Regions from separate parts of the Homo sapiens genome. Here region 1 is linked to region 2. Evidence: promoter capture Hi-C in 16 types of primary human blood cells and fetal thymus (Javierre and others, 2016). All regions are on one chromosome and are shown on one strand. Each heading gives the region's core, a stretch centred on a gene start or on the middle of the fragment in contact. The rest is flanking DNA. Distances are from core to core; before and after follow the strand shown.

What was found. The method cuts DNA at HindIII sites, captures the fragments that hold promoters and counts their contacts. A CHiCAGO score of 5 or more calls a contact.
Region 1: a fragment that was not itself captured here is called in contact with the fragment with the promoter of S100A13 in region 2 in 1 of 17 cell types (M1 macrophages); the score reaches 5.5 in M1 macrophages.

Annotation. Positions count from the first base shown.
Region 1 is chr1:153,401,404-153,408,473 of GRCh38, forward strand. It overlaps a transcript of S100A8 not described here. Among named protein-coding and RNA genes, the nearest start is that of S100A7A, 12 kb to the right of the region's middle. The HindIII fragment of the contact is 162 bases long and covers 3,372-3,533 here.
Region 2 is chr1:153,625,829-153,632,276 of GRCh38, forward strand. S100A13 (S100 calcium binding protein A13) reads right to left here and starts at 1,677. Exons shown (of 3, transcript NM_001024211.2): 1 at 1,655-1,677; 2 at 492-705. The coding sequence starts at 644. S100A1 (S100 calcium binding protein A1) reads left to right here and starts at 2,606. Exons shown (of 3, transcript NM_006271.2): 1 at 2,606-2,668; 2 at 4,681-4,834; 3 at 5,870-6,211. The coding sequence starts at 4,694. The coding sequence ends at 6,013. RefSeq lists enhancers at 1,099-1,924, 2,751-3,574. The HindIII fragment of the contact is 11,281 bases long and covers 1,148-6,448 here.

The DNA of each region.
Region 1 (7,070 bases), core at 2,203-4,702, 220 kb before region 2:
AGACAGACATTTGGCCAAAACTTCAGGTTACTGTACTTAGAAAAGAACCATAAACATGGTGCCAAGCATGCATCTCCCATGTCACAACCCAACCACCCATGGCCAGGACTAAGATTGTGATCTTGACAAACACAGTCTTCATGTCTTTCCAGTGTGCAGACCAGACACTGAAAACAATGTCCCGTGACATCCAGAAGCCAGTACAGCAAAGGAGTAGCGCTTTCTGGTGAAATTGAGAAAGGAGGTTACCCGAAACTGGCCCTGAAGCACCCCCATCCCCGCTTCGGCCGCACCCAGGGTTTTAGACACCTCAAGAATTGGAAATACTTCAAGCAGGATAATATTCAATTTCTGACTAAGAGGGCGGTGAGGTGGTGGTGAAGAGGATCAAGTAATTACCTTAAAAATTAAAGAAATCTCATATGGTACTTGAGACGATGAATCGGGTTATACTGATGGAATATTTAGGGATTTTTGCCAGTTCTTACCAGTGTATATCTATTTTCTTTTTTCCAGACCTTTTTTATCTTTAGGATTAGAGCAACCTGATATCCCAGTCAACAGCCTCAAGAGTATCTGAAATGTGTGTTAGATGGGCTGTGCTTGAAGGGGGAGCTGCTAGATGCATTAGAATCCTCACAGAAAATGTGATAAAGAGAAAGAAAGGGTACATTATTGCCGTGTAGAGAAAAAGAATAGGATTTGAGCATAGGGAGTCCCTAGGCTGCTTCTGTAGGACCAGGAGGCTGCTGGAGAGTGAGAAGATGATTAACAGTATTAAGTTCTTCCTCTTTGCTGAGCACTGCTCCATGGGCTTTACATCCACCCATTCATCTCATCTTCTTAACAATTGCTGAAAAAGCCCAAGGAATGACAATTACAGGAGCATGCTGGGGACACAGCTAGTAATGCAGAGGCACATTTCTAACCCAGGCCCATGGGCCCCACATACCTGTTCTCAACCACTACATTACCTTGTCCCCGAATAACAGGAAATCCAACCTTAGGGAGAGCAGGAGAAGGGCCCCATGGTTAGAGGAAAGAGCTGGAACAGAGGTGCTCAGGTAGGAGCCAGCCTGGGCTGACAGAGGGGCAGAAAGAAGGGCTGGAGTGGTGTAAATGGAGCCCAGAAAGACAGGAGATGAGGTCTGAGGGGCAGGCAGAGGACAAGCCAACGAGGACTTTGCAAAATTTGGACTTTAAGCAGGATGGGAAGCCACTAAAAGTTTTTAGTAAGGGATATGCCATGTTCATAGCAGCTTTACATGCTATTGTAAAGCTGATAGTTCTCCCAAACGTAACCTATAGATTCAGTGCAATCCCAGTCCCAAAGTCCTTGCTGGAATTTTTGTAGAAATTGACAAGTTAACTGTAAAAAGTATATAGACAGGCCAAGAATAGCCAAGGGAATCATGAAAAAGAAAAGACATGGGAGGATCTACAGTACTAGATGTTAAGATTTATCATAACAGCTCCGGTAACTAAGATACTGCCTGGCTGGTTCAAGGACAGTCACATAGATCAACAGAACTAAATAGAGGTCTGAGAAAAAGACACACACGTATGGTATATTTATTCTGTGACAAAAGTGGCACTGCTGAGCACAAGCTTTTCAATACATTTTACTGGATCAACTGGATGCTCATGCTCATGAAACTAGACCACACAAGCAGACAAAATGACAATTCCAAGTGGATTGTAGGTCTAACTGTGGAAAGTAAAGTCATAAAGCCTCAGTAGCATATGCAAAGATATTCAAGACCTCAGTCTTGAAGATTTACTTCTATATTTTCTTCTAAGAGTTTTAGTTTTAGCTCTTATGTGTAGGGCTGTGACCTATTCTGAGTTAATTTGTGTGTATGAAGGAAGGAAGGGGTCCAGCTTCATTATTTTGCATGTGGCTGTCCACTTGTCCCAGCATCATGTGTTGGAAAGACTATTCTTTCTCCATTGAATTGGCTTGGCGGGCTTGTTGAAAATCAATTGACTGTGAATGTGAAGGCTGAGAACACTTTATCATGAACTGTTAGCTTCACCTATGTAAAGATATCTTCTCTCTGCTCTACCTCCTGTCGAAATCTGACACGACTCTTGCTCAAAACAAGCTTTGTTTCCTGAGTTCCGTGGCCTTGTCTCATGTGGAGCAATCATGTCACATTAACCCCCTCCCCACCCCCACTCCACGTCCACCCTGTGGGCCACGGCCCTGCCCTTTCCCAGCTGTTTTATGATCTGCTTTTTCAATTAGGACTATGTTTAAAACATCTCCCCAGTTCTTAAATATTTTTGAGTGATTGATTCCAAATAGCTACATTATATGGAATTCCAGAACCATTCTGACTAACAACACTTTTGACGCCAAATGTGTGGGGGTTATATTTCCTTTTTTTAAAATCCCCACACCAACCAATTCTCCAACACTCTGAACACCATCGGGGTATCGTGCAATTCCGTTCTGATCCTAACTACCAAGAGTTAGCACAGACCCCACAAGGTGAAGGCTCAGCCCCACAACACTGCCCCCACTGCAGATGCCAATCGCAGCACCTGACCGCCCATACTTCTGACTGACTGGCTAAAATTGGAGGTTCCTACAAACCCCCTCCTCAGGTTAGATAATCTGCTACAAGAGTTCACAGGACTCAGGGAGGCACTTTACTCATGATTACTGGTTTATTACAAAGAGTACAACTCAGGAAAAGCCACGTGGAAGAGACACACAGGGCCATGTATGAGGGGCAGCATGGAGCTCCCAGGCCCACTCCAGGAGCCCACCCTTCCGGCACCCCACCTGCTCAGCAGCCCTACAGTTCTCTGAACCCCATCGTTTGGGGTTTCTATGGCAGTCACTTCATTTAGGCATAGTTGATTAAATAATTGGCCACTGGTGATTGAAGTCCTTCCCCAGCCGCTCTGTGGAGGCCCAGTGTGGGGCTGAAAGCTCCAGCCCTCTAATCACATGGTTGCTTCCTCTGGCAACCAGCCCCATCCTGAAGCTATCTAGGGGTCCACCAAGAGTCACCTCATTAGCACACACTCAGCATGACTGGAAGGGGATTGTTATGAATAACAAAAGATGCTCCCTCTCCCCTGTCATTCAGGAGATTCCAAGGATTTCAGACGCTCGGTGTCAGGAACAGGGACAAAGACCAAATGTCCATTTCGTATCATCACAGGGATTCCATGTGTATAGGCATCAAGATTTACTTAACCCACCATTACTAAAAATTTAATTATTTTTATCTCTTCCTGTTTCTACCACTTGATTAACAATTGTGTCCCCAATATACTATTTTATGCAGTGTCCTCTGGTAAGCATTGGAGAGAGAAAAGAATACAAATTAAGTAAGAAAAGCCCTCTGCCTTTCAGAAGCTTTTGGTGAAGATCTCTTTTTTTAACAGGTGCAAGATTGGTGCCCGACGTGGGACTCACAACCTACAGAAGGGCGGGAACCACGAAGGACCCAGCCACGTGGTACTGCCTCCGGCGACAACCAGGGCGAGGTGGGTGCTCGGTGGCGCCACCGTGTGGAAGCTTGGGAAACAGAAAACCAATTCTCTGCACTCAGGGCCAGAGTTTTGTCCTGGGCCTCTGACTGGGGCCAACTGTAACAGGAACAGCCCTTACAGTGTAAGTCAGAATCCTACAGTCCTCCTTGGCCAAGGAGCCTTCCTGGAGTCCCCCCCACCCCGCACTGCTTTCTCCAGCTTGCCAGTTTTACCTACACGGCCCAGCCTCGTCTTAAAATTGGGCGAGATGAGGAATGATCATTGCCAACTTGAAATTTGGTTGAACAGATACATTTCTCAGGGTACGCTTGGGTCACTTCCTAGCACTGTCTGTGTATGCGGCCTCCGAGAAAGCAACCTCCCTTATCAGGCTAACAGAATTGACAGTAAATCCTCCCAGCAAACCCATTCGACAGGATGGTGGGTGTTAGTCCAAACTGCACCATTTTGTAAGCCCCCTGCCATTTTGCGGACCCTGGTCAGAGTGAAACATTCCATGTGGATTCAGGCCGTGAGAAACATCCTGCCTAACCACCTGACCGCAAGGCACAAGAGCATCCTTATCATACCCTGCTGGGCAAAGGCGCAACTGAAGGAACATCCCCATCATATCCTGCGGGGCAAAGGTCCAAGAAACAGCCTATCACATCCCGCTGGAAAAAGGTCCAAACCGCCTGATCACAGGAACATCTTATCAATATCCTCCCGGCGAGCTAGCCATACTGCCCAGACCCCCACCTAGACCTATAAATTACCCCAGCCTGTAAGCGGCAGGGGGCTCTGGCATTAAGCTTGTCCCCCACCTCCTCAGGTCTTGTGCTGGACATAAAACCTGCATTTCCATAGAGCCACCAACTCTCTCTGTGTCTTTTTTTAACCCTTGCCTTCCCTTCAAAACCTAACAGTGGGACCACAGGCTCTGGGCTGCAGCTGGGTGTTCTCATCCTCCAGTGTGGATGGCTCACAGCAGAACTGAGTCCTAATAACCTCTTGTGAATGCTGCAGAACTCTCTCTCTGTCTCTCTGTCCCGCTCCCCCAACTGCTGCACGAGTCCAGAGATGCAGCTGGCCAGCACCACCCAGAAGGACCCCAAACAGAACAGCTGGCTGTCTTGGAACATTCCCGTGGCTCCCTCTGCCCTGTCCCTCTCACCGTGGCTCCTGGAAGTGCTCTATGGCCTATTGAAAGGATGCCCCTACAAAGCTTCCCCTGGTTCCCCCACCTGAAAAGTGATTTCTCCTCTTCCAAATTCCCACACACTTTATCTGAACCTTTTTGAAGACACCTGCCTCACTTGCTAGTTTGGCCAATGTTTATGGAGTTCTCTGCACTGGAGGCTGGGGGCACAATATAAGACATGGCTGGGCGGCAGCAAACATAGCATATGTGTGGCCAGGGCTGTCACTGAGACATGCAGGGACATGGGGATGATGGCTCTGCCTGGAGAAGGCTTCACAGAGAAAGTGACCACTGAACTGCCTGGGGACCTGGGGGCTTCCGGGCTCTGTCCCACTCTACTCTCTCACCACCCAGTGCCTTATATTGGAGTTCTCTCCTGGGGCCAGAGCATTGCTCAAAGCATGGTCCACATCCACTCCATCTCCCTGCCACCCTGACACCTGCACACCCAGAACAGAGTCAGCACTCACAGCATAAATGAATGGATAAAATACAGCAAAAAGAACAAATTGCTTTCTGTCCTCTTCCCCCAGCAACTTGAGATCTTCTAGAGACCCAGGAGTATGTTGCTTCTACTTCAGGCTGGGGAGAGGCGAGCTCCCCAAAACGATAGAGGAGATGAAGATATCAACCAGCCAAATTCCTGTTCACAATCAGCCTGTTGTGAGCTCTCCTGGGGGATCAGCAGTGGCTGGGAGGTTGGATGTGTGATAGGATGGGGTGGGTTTATGGAGAGTGTTTGTTCCAGACATGACACAGGGGAAAGGCTCACAGGGTTCAACCTGATGAGCAGGTGCAAAAGATAAGGCCCCTATTAAAGCTAATTTGCTAAGATTTTGATTTTAGCAAAAACAAATGATCAGTTTTTTGGATGTCTCAAATATGTTTGATATTTTTGGAGAGGTTCCAAGATGGCCGAATAGGAACAGCTCCAGTCTACAGCTCCCAGCGAAGCAGAAGACAGGTGATTTCTGCATTTCCAACTGAGGTACCGGGTTCATCTCACTGGGGCTTGTCAGACAGTGGGAGCAATACAGTGGATGCAGCCCACAGAGCATGAGCTGAAGCAGGGTGAGCATCACCTCACCCAGGAAGCACAAGGGGCCAGGGAATACTTTTCATAGCCAAGGGAAGCCGTGACAGACGGCACCTGGAAAATCAGGTCACTCCCACCCTAATACTGTGCTTTTTCAGTGGTCTTAGCAAACAGCACACCAGGAGATCATATCCCGTGCCTGGCTCGGACAGTCCCACACTCACAGAGCCTCGCTCACTGCTAGCACAGCAGTGTGATATCAAACTGCACGGCGGCAGTGAGGCTGGGGGCAGGGTGCCCGCCATTTCTGAGGCTTGAGTAGGTAAACAAAGCAGCCAGGAAGCGCGAACTGGGTGGAGCCCACCACAGCTAAAGGAGGTCTGCCTGCCTCGGTAGACTCCACCTCTGTGGGCAGGGCATAGCTGAACAAAAGGCAGCAGAAACTTCTGCAGGCTTAAGCGTCCCTGTTTGACAGCTTTGAAGAGAGTAGTGGTTCTCCAAGCACGGAGTTTGAGATCTGAGAACTGACAGACTGCCTCCTCAAGTGGGTCCTTGACCCCCAAGCAGCCTAACTGGGAGGTACCTCCCAGCAGGGGCCAACTGACACCTCATACAGCCAGGTGCCCCTCTGAGACAAAGCTTCCAGAGGAACAATCAGGAACCAACATTTGCCATTCTGCAATATTTGCTGTTCTGCAGCCTCCGCTGGTGACACCCAGGCAAACAGGGTCTGGAGTGGACCTCCAGCAAATTCCAACAGACCTGCAGCTGAGGGTCCTGACTGTTAGAAGGAAAACTAACAAACAGAAAGGACATCCACGCCAAAACTCCATCTGTACGTCACCATCATAAAAGACCAAAGGTAGATAAAACCACAAAGATGGGGAGAAGCCAGAGCAGAAAAGCTGAAAACTCTAAAAATCAGAGCACCTCTTCTCCTCCAAAGGAACGCAGCTCCTCACCAGCAACGGAACAAAGTTGGATGGAGAATGACTTTGACGAGTTGAGAGAAGAAGGCTTCAGATGATCAGTAATAACAAACTTCTCCGAGCTAAAGGAGTTTGTTCAAACCCATCGCAAAGAAGCTAAAAACTTTGAAAAAAAGATTAAATGAATGGCTAACTAGAATAGACAGCATAGAGAAGACCTTAAATGACCTGATGGAGCTGAAAACCATGGCACGAGAACTACATGACTCATGCACAAGCTTCAGTAGCCAATTTGATCAACAGGAAGAAAGGGTAGCAGTGATTGCAGATCAAATGAATGAAATGAAGTGAGAAGAGAAGTTTAGAGAAAAAAGAGTAAAAAGAAATGGACAAAGCCTCCAAGAAATATGGGACT
Region 2 (6,448 bases), core at 427-2,926:
TATGCATGGACACACAAACACACACATGTACACACCAGGCAAGAAAACTCACAACCGGGTCAGGCGCAGTGGCTTGCGCCTGTAACCACAGCACTTTGGGAGGCCGAGGCGGGTGGATCACCTGAGGTCAGGAGTTCGAGACCAGCCTGGCCAACCTGGTGAAACCCTGTCTCTACTAAAAATACAGAAATAGGCTCGGCGTGGTGGCACACACCTGTAATCCCAGCTACTCAGGAGGCTGAGGCAGGAGAATCACTTGAACCCCGGAGATGGAGGTTGCAGTGAGCCAAGATCACACCACTGCACTCCGGCCTGGGCAACAGAGTGAGACTTTGTCTCGAAAAAACAAAAGAAAACCTGCAACCATTGACACATGCAGCCACCCACACCCTTTCTTGTGGTCACCTCACCGTACTCGGCACCATCACGTCCTAAACACAGTGTCCCATAATCATCATCTCACAAAATCTCAGTCCCAGACTTCTGCCTACCTTGAGCAGATGGGGCAACTGCTGGGTAACCAGCTCTTTGAACTCGTTGACGCTGAGGCTATCCTTCCGGCCCTCCTGCCTTGCAAAGGTGAAGAAGGTGGTGACCACGGTCTCAATGGACTCCTCTAGCTCTGTCAGTGGTTCTGCTGCCATTAGGACCCTGAGGCCAAAGCTGATGTCCTCAAGGGGCTAGCTGACCTTTGTCAGGGCTGACCTGTGGAAGAGAGAAGGAGCAGAGAGGGAGAGTCAGGGAGCCCCAAGATGCAGGAATGGTTCAGAAGGTCCCTGCCTTGGTGTTATCACATCAGTCTCAGCCTGGAGGGGGCATATGGGGAAAGAGGGAGAGGACAGGGGTTGAGCTTGGGGCAGCAGACCAGGCAACGGCATCTCAGTTTTGGTGGGGGCAGGAGATTCAGCTCCAGAAACCCCCTCTTCTGTAGGTCTCACAATCCGGGATCCTTTTTAAATGTCTGTGGCTTAGGGACCCCTCTGTGGTGATCCCTCGATCTGGAGACCCCTCTACTTGAGAGGAGGTCTTCAGTTGAAGGTCCTTCTTGGAGTCCTTCAAGTCTGGTGGCCCCTCTGTGGCGTGTCTGTCTCAAGAATCCCTTCTTGTCTCACCCAGACTCACAGGTCATAAGGTTGTTTGTCTCCAAAGCTTGTTTATGTTGGGCCCTGGTCTCCGGCCACTCGCATCCGCCCACACACACTCTAACCGCTCCTCCCAGCAGAGAAGCACAGGGTCTGGCAAATGTCCCCTGTGGTCAGAGCTGGCTCCGTCTGAACAGACCCATTTTCTCTGCCCCGCTCCACCCTTACCTCTCCTCAGCGGCAGCAGGGCAGAGTGCTGAACCCAGGACCCCACAGATCCTCCCCGCTCCTGTCTCCCGGTGACAAGGGTCCTGGAACGGGGCGTCTCTGACTCCCTGCTCCAGGACGGGTTTAGTACAGGCACTCACAACCCCCTGGGGTGCGGCGGGTGGGGCTGGAAGAGGCATTCTCTTTTCTGTCCACCCCGTCACACACTCCTGCACGCGCTGTTGCTCGATCATCCAAAGCTCCTTCCTGAATTCCTGTCTGAGCTGGCTCTGGGGGAGGGACCTGGGAGCCCAGGAAGAAAAAATGATCTCCAGCCTCCCTCCAGGGTCAGCCATGAGACTCACCCGGCAAGGAGATGGGGTAGAGTGAGCTGGAGCCTCAGGGCTGAGGTTTATAAGCAGCGGGGAAGGAGGAGAGAGCTGCTTCCAAGCCCGGAGGTGTCAAATTTCCGTGGTCGATTCTGAAGACCAGAGACAGCCCAATCAGGCCGCTTGCCCTGAGCCCTCAGGTCTGGACCCGGGCTCCCTGCCAGCCACACGAGCGCCCCCACTTGGTCAGGGAGAGGAGCTGCCTGGACAGATCTCGTTCGGCAGGGGTCCCAGGGTCCTAGTCCTCTCAATACTGGGGGCTGCTGCCACCATACCCATGTCTAATCAGGAGTGTGTATGCTGAGGGGGGAAGAGGGAGGCAACCAATCAAGGGAGCTCAACACTGAGAGGCCCAATCTGAGACACACACAGAGGCCCCTTGGAATGAGATCCCACAAAGGATGCTACAGACCAAGATCCCTCAGAGAACCCCAGGCTGAGGCCCCACACACAGAGGGGGATCCAGGTTGAGACCCCCAGAGAAGAGTCCTGGATTGAAATCCCTCTGTGGGTTCTCAGACTCCCAAGACTAAGTTTCTCACTGAGGGTCCTCTCAGTGAGGCCCCATGGAGGAGCCACAGACTAAGACCCCCTCAGCAGAATTCCCCCCTTACCGGGCTCAACCAGCACAGCCAGCCACAGGTACTGCAAGGCCCAGCTTGGGGTAAGACATCCAGTGTCCCTCCCAGGACCTCCTTCCCACCTCTTTCCCCTGCACCATCCACTGCTGCCTGGAGAGAAAGGAACGGGGCAAGCAAGGCTGGGAAAGAGACAAGGGCCGCCTGTTCCAGCCCAGGAGACAGAGGGCGCCTCTGTCTGCTCCTGGCCCCTTGCCCCACAGGGTGTTCGTCTGTGAAGGGGTGGAGTCGGTGGGGGGGTCAGCGGGGGAGGGACTGTTGAAGACAGGTCTCCACACACAGCTCCAGCAGCCACATTTGCAACCTTGGCCATCTGTCCAGAACCTGCTCCCACCTCAGGCCCAGGCCAACCGTGAGTACCCTGCCCCACTGGGCTAGTCCCTGGCCTGCCAGCTTCAGGGAGAGGGGTCTTCAGAAGGGCTCCAAGAGGCTGGGGACCATAGCACTGTGGAGCACTGAGGATCTGGGAGGAGTCAGTCAGGGTGAGGGCAGTTTGGGATTTGGGGGAGACAGGGTTTGGAAGGTGGTGATGAGAGACAAATGAACTGAAGGTCGGAGAGAGAGCTGGCAGCTCAGCAAAGGAGGAAGCCAGTGGGGAACCCACCATGAGCTTCCTGACCGCCTGGCCCTCCCACAGGGAGCCCTCAAGTCCCTGCCAAGGCCCCCTCTGTCTCCCAGGTGTTGGGAAGGGTCCCAGCCCTCCCCTGCCTCGCCTCCTGTGGGGTAAGAAGAGAGCAGATACAACAGCTGTTTCTGCCCCCACCTCTCCTGCCAGCCTTAGTCTCTGCCACCCCCACCCTGCCTTGCCAAGAGCTCAGGTCCCGGGGGAGTCTGGGGGTGGCAGGGCAAAGCTCCCATGATATGGGGAAGCAGAGATGTAGGGTGCTGTGCCCCTTCCCAACTCGACCTCCACAGGACCTCCCCTTTCTCCTCCTCCCATTTTTGGCCCAGACCTCTTGACTCCTCTTTCCCCCCATTCTTACCTCTTTGTTTCCCCATCTCCCCTGCCCCCAAGTCCTCTCAGAACTGCCACCACGTAAAATCCCAGGCTGCTTTAGGGCTCCAGGTGACCTCCAGCTGCCCCTCTGGCATGGAGCAGGTAATCAAGCTACCAGCACCCCTCCCTCAAGCACCCCTTATCCCCTCATCAGCCACAGCTTGGGTTCCATCTCCCCCATGTCTCTGTGACAACTGCTTCTCAGGTCCGGAGTTCAGATGACACTCACAAGGGCCCCATTGAAGAACTGGGATGTCATTCGATCAGGGGCCATTGTCCAGCCCCCTAGGCCTGGGGAAGGATGGGGACATCTGATCCGAGACACCTGAGCTGCCCCCTCTGGGGTTGTGGAAGGCCAGACTGTCCCAGGGCCAAGGGAAAGAGGCCCCCCGGCTTGGCAGTCTTCTCTCTCAACAGACCACTCCTTTCTCCTTTCTTCTCCTACTCTCTCCCAGCCCCTTGAACTCAAAGGACCGCATGCTTTCAGCCCTTTCTCTCCCCCAACACACAGCAGCCCCATTCCCCTTGCTCCCACTATCCCCGAATCAACCAGGAGTGAGCAGTTGCAGGGACAACGCCTGCAGGTCTCCTCTCCCACTCCCTGGGAACTCTGGCTCCAAGGAAAAGGCTCAGACATTCCTCTCTCCCCTTCTGCCACCCACCAGATGGAAGGGATAATTTTGCAGAGGCAATGGGAGCATATCCCAAAGAAGCCAAAATGACATGTTCAGGAGAGAACAGAGTTGAAGGACCAAAAGGGGCCCCCAGCTGCTGACAGGAAACTCAGAGTCAGTGAGACCTCCCTCCCCCAGAAGGCGTACGCCACCCACTGGGGCTGCCATCCCCTCTACCAGGCTGACCGAGGGTACCAGACTGACTCCTTGCTAGGGGTGGGCAGCAGAAGGAAGGCTGTAGTGGACACCCCAGCCCACCACCCTCAACAGCAGAGCTTGGCTATGCTAGACAGGCAAGGTCCAGGGTAAAAATAGAGCCAGAGGAAGCATGGCCCAGTCCTGTGACCACCCCTGCCTGCCCCACCCTCCTCAATCCCTGCCTGGGCAGCCACTGCAGACATCTACCACAGGCCTCTGGAGCCAGCCCAGCTCCAACTGCTCTCTCTCCATGCCCCAACCCTGATTCCCTCTGGCTGGGGTACAGACTGAGGGACACAGAGAACAGGCCTGCACTTAGGTCTCTTGGGGTTTCCCTCACATTGTAAAATCTCAGGGAAAGATCAATTGCAGTAGGGCTCTAATCCCACAGCTATTTGAGCTGTCAGCCAGGGCCAGTCCTGAGGGTTCCCCTCACCTAGACCCCAGGTACTCCGGGCCTGGTCCTCAGCTCACTTCCATGATGGGGGTGGGTAGGTGCACTGCTGCAATGGGCTCTGAGCTGGAGACGGCGATGGAGACCCTCATCAACGTGTTCCACGCCCACTCGGGCAAAGAGGGGGACAAGTACAAGCTGAGCAAGAAGGAGCTGAAAGAGCTGCTGCAGACGGAGCTCTCTGGCTTCCTGGATGTGAGCATAGAGTGGTGGAGTGGGAGTGGAGTGGGTGAAGGTTGGGGGAATGGGGTGGACACCCCCTTGCTATCTCCCCACCCCACCTCCAGCTCAGCCTAGCCTCTTTCTTTCCTTTCCCAGGCTTCTCTCCTGGGTTTTTCCAGGCTCCCCTACTCCTCCTGGGTCAAGTCAAAATGCCCTGGTTTATTGATCACCTGTTAAGTGTTAGGCCCTGTGTAGATTCATCAATAATAAGACACACAGACTTAGAAGGGAAAGATTGACACTTAAAAGTAAACCATGAACTCCAGGAAATACACAGAGCCTTAACAGATGTACCAGAAAGGGTTATGAGAGATTATTAACCTGATTGAAGTCAGATGGCTTTCCTGAAGAGGTGGCACTTGAACCATGGATTTCCATTGGAAGATTATCTGGGTAAATGCAGACATTTTAGGAGGAGGTAACTGAATGAACAAAAGCATGGGAGAAAGAAGAATGTGGAGCATGTCAGTAGTTTCATTCAACTGGCATGAAGGATGTAGAAAACTAGGCTGCTAAGGCTAACCAGGGCCCCAAAGTAAAGAAGCCTCAGGATACGGTAGAAAGTGCACCGGTTTTGAGGTTTTATTGGACTGGGTTCAAATTCCAGCCCTGCTACTTTCTAGCTGTGGGACTTTGGGCATATTTATTTAACCACCGATTACCAATTTGTTTCTTCTCTAGAATGGAAATAATGAAACATACCTCACATTATTTGTATTAGAATTAAATTAGACAGTGCTTGTAAAGCTCCTAGTGTAGTGCTTGCTTTATTATAGGCACTGAACATACGGTAACTGGTGTCATTATTATTCATTCTGCCAGGTGAAAGAGCTTATGCTGTAGGCAACAGAAGCCCTCAAGACCTTTGAGGAGGCCTAGAAGAGTCCCATAATTCAATGCAGTTCCTCTCGCTCATCTTTGCCTCCTGCTCCTCAACCACCCCCTTGCCTCTGACTCAGTGCTGTACCCTTCCCTATACACCTCCCTCTTCCTCTCCTCCCACCACAGGCCCAGAAGGATGTGGATGCTGTGGACAAGGTGATGAAGGAGCTAGACGAGAATGGAGACGGGGAGGTGGACTTCCAGGAGTATGTGGTGCTTGTGGCTGCTCTCACAGTGGCCTGTAACAATTTCTTCTGGGAGAACAGTTGAGCAGACAGCCACATTGGGCAGCGCCCTTCCTCTCCACCCTCCCAGACCTGCCTCTTCCCCCTGCTTCCACCTCACCCCACTTATCCCTCTCCATAACCCCACCCTTGCCCACCCCACCCCCACCCCCACCAAGGGCGCAAGAGTAGCGGTCCAAGCCTGCAACTCATCTTTCATTAAAGGCTTCTCTCTCACCAGCCATCCGATGTCTGTCTCCTCTGGGATCTGGAAGTGGGTGGAGACGTGAAGACTGTTCACTCTCAACTCCCCTTATTTGGGGAAGTGTCTTATTTAGAAAGAGGTCAAGGTGCATTACATCTTCCTACTTGAGGAATGCTCAAGGTCCAGAAATGTGGGGGTTCAAGGTTCCAGTTGGAAGTCGAGGAGACATCAGCTTCTCAACTATAAAACCAGAGGAAGAAATAATCTTTTTTTTTT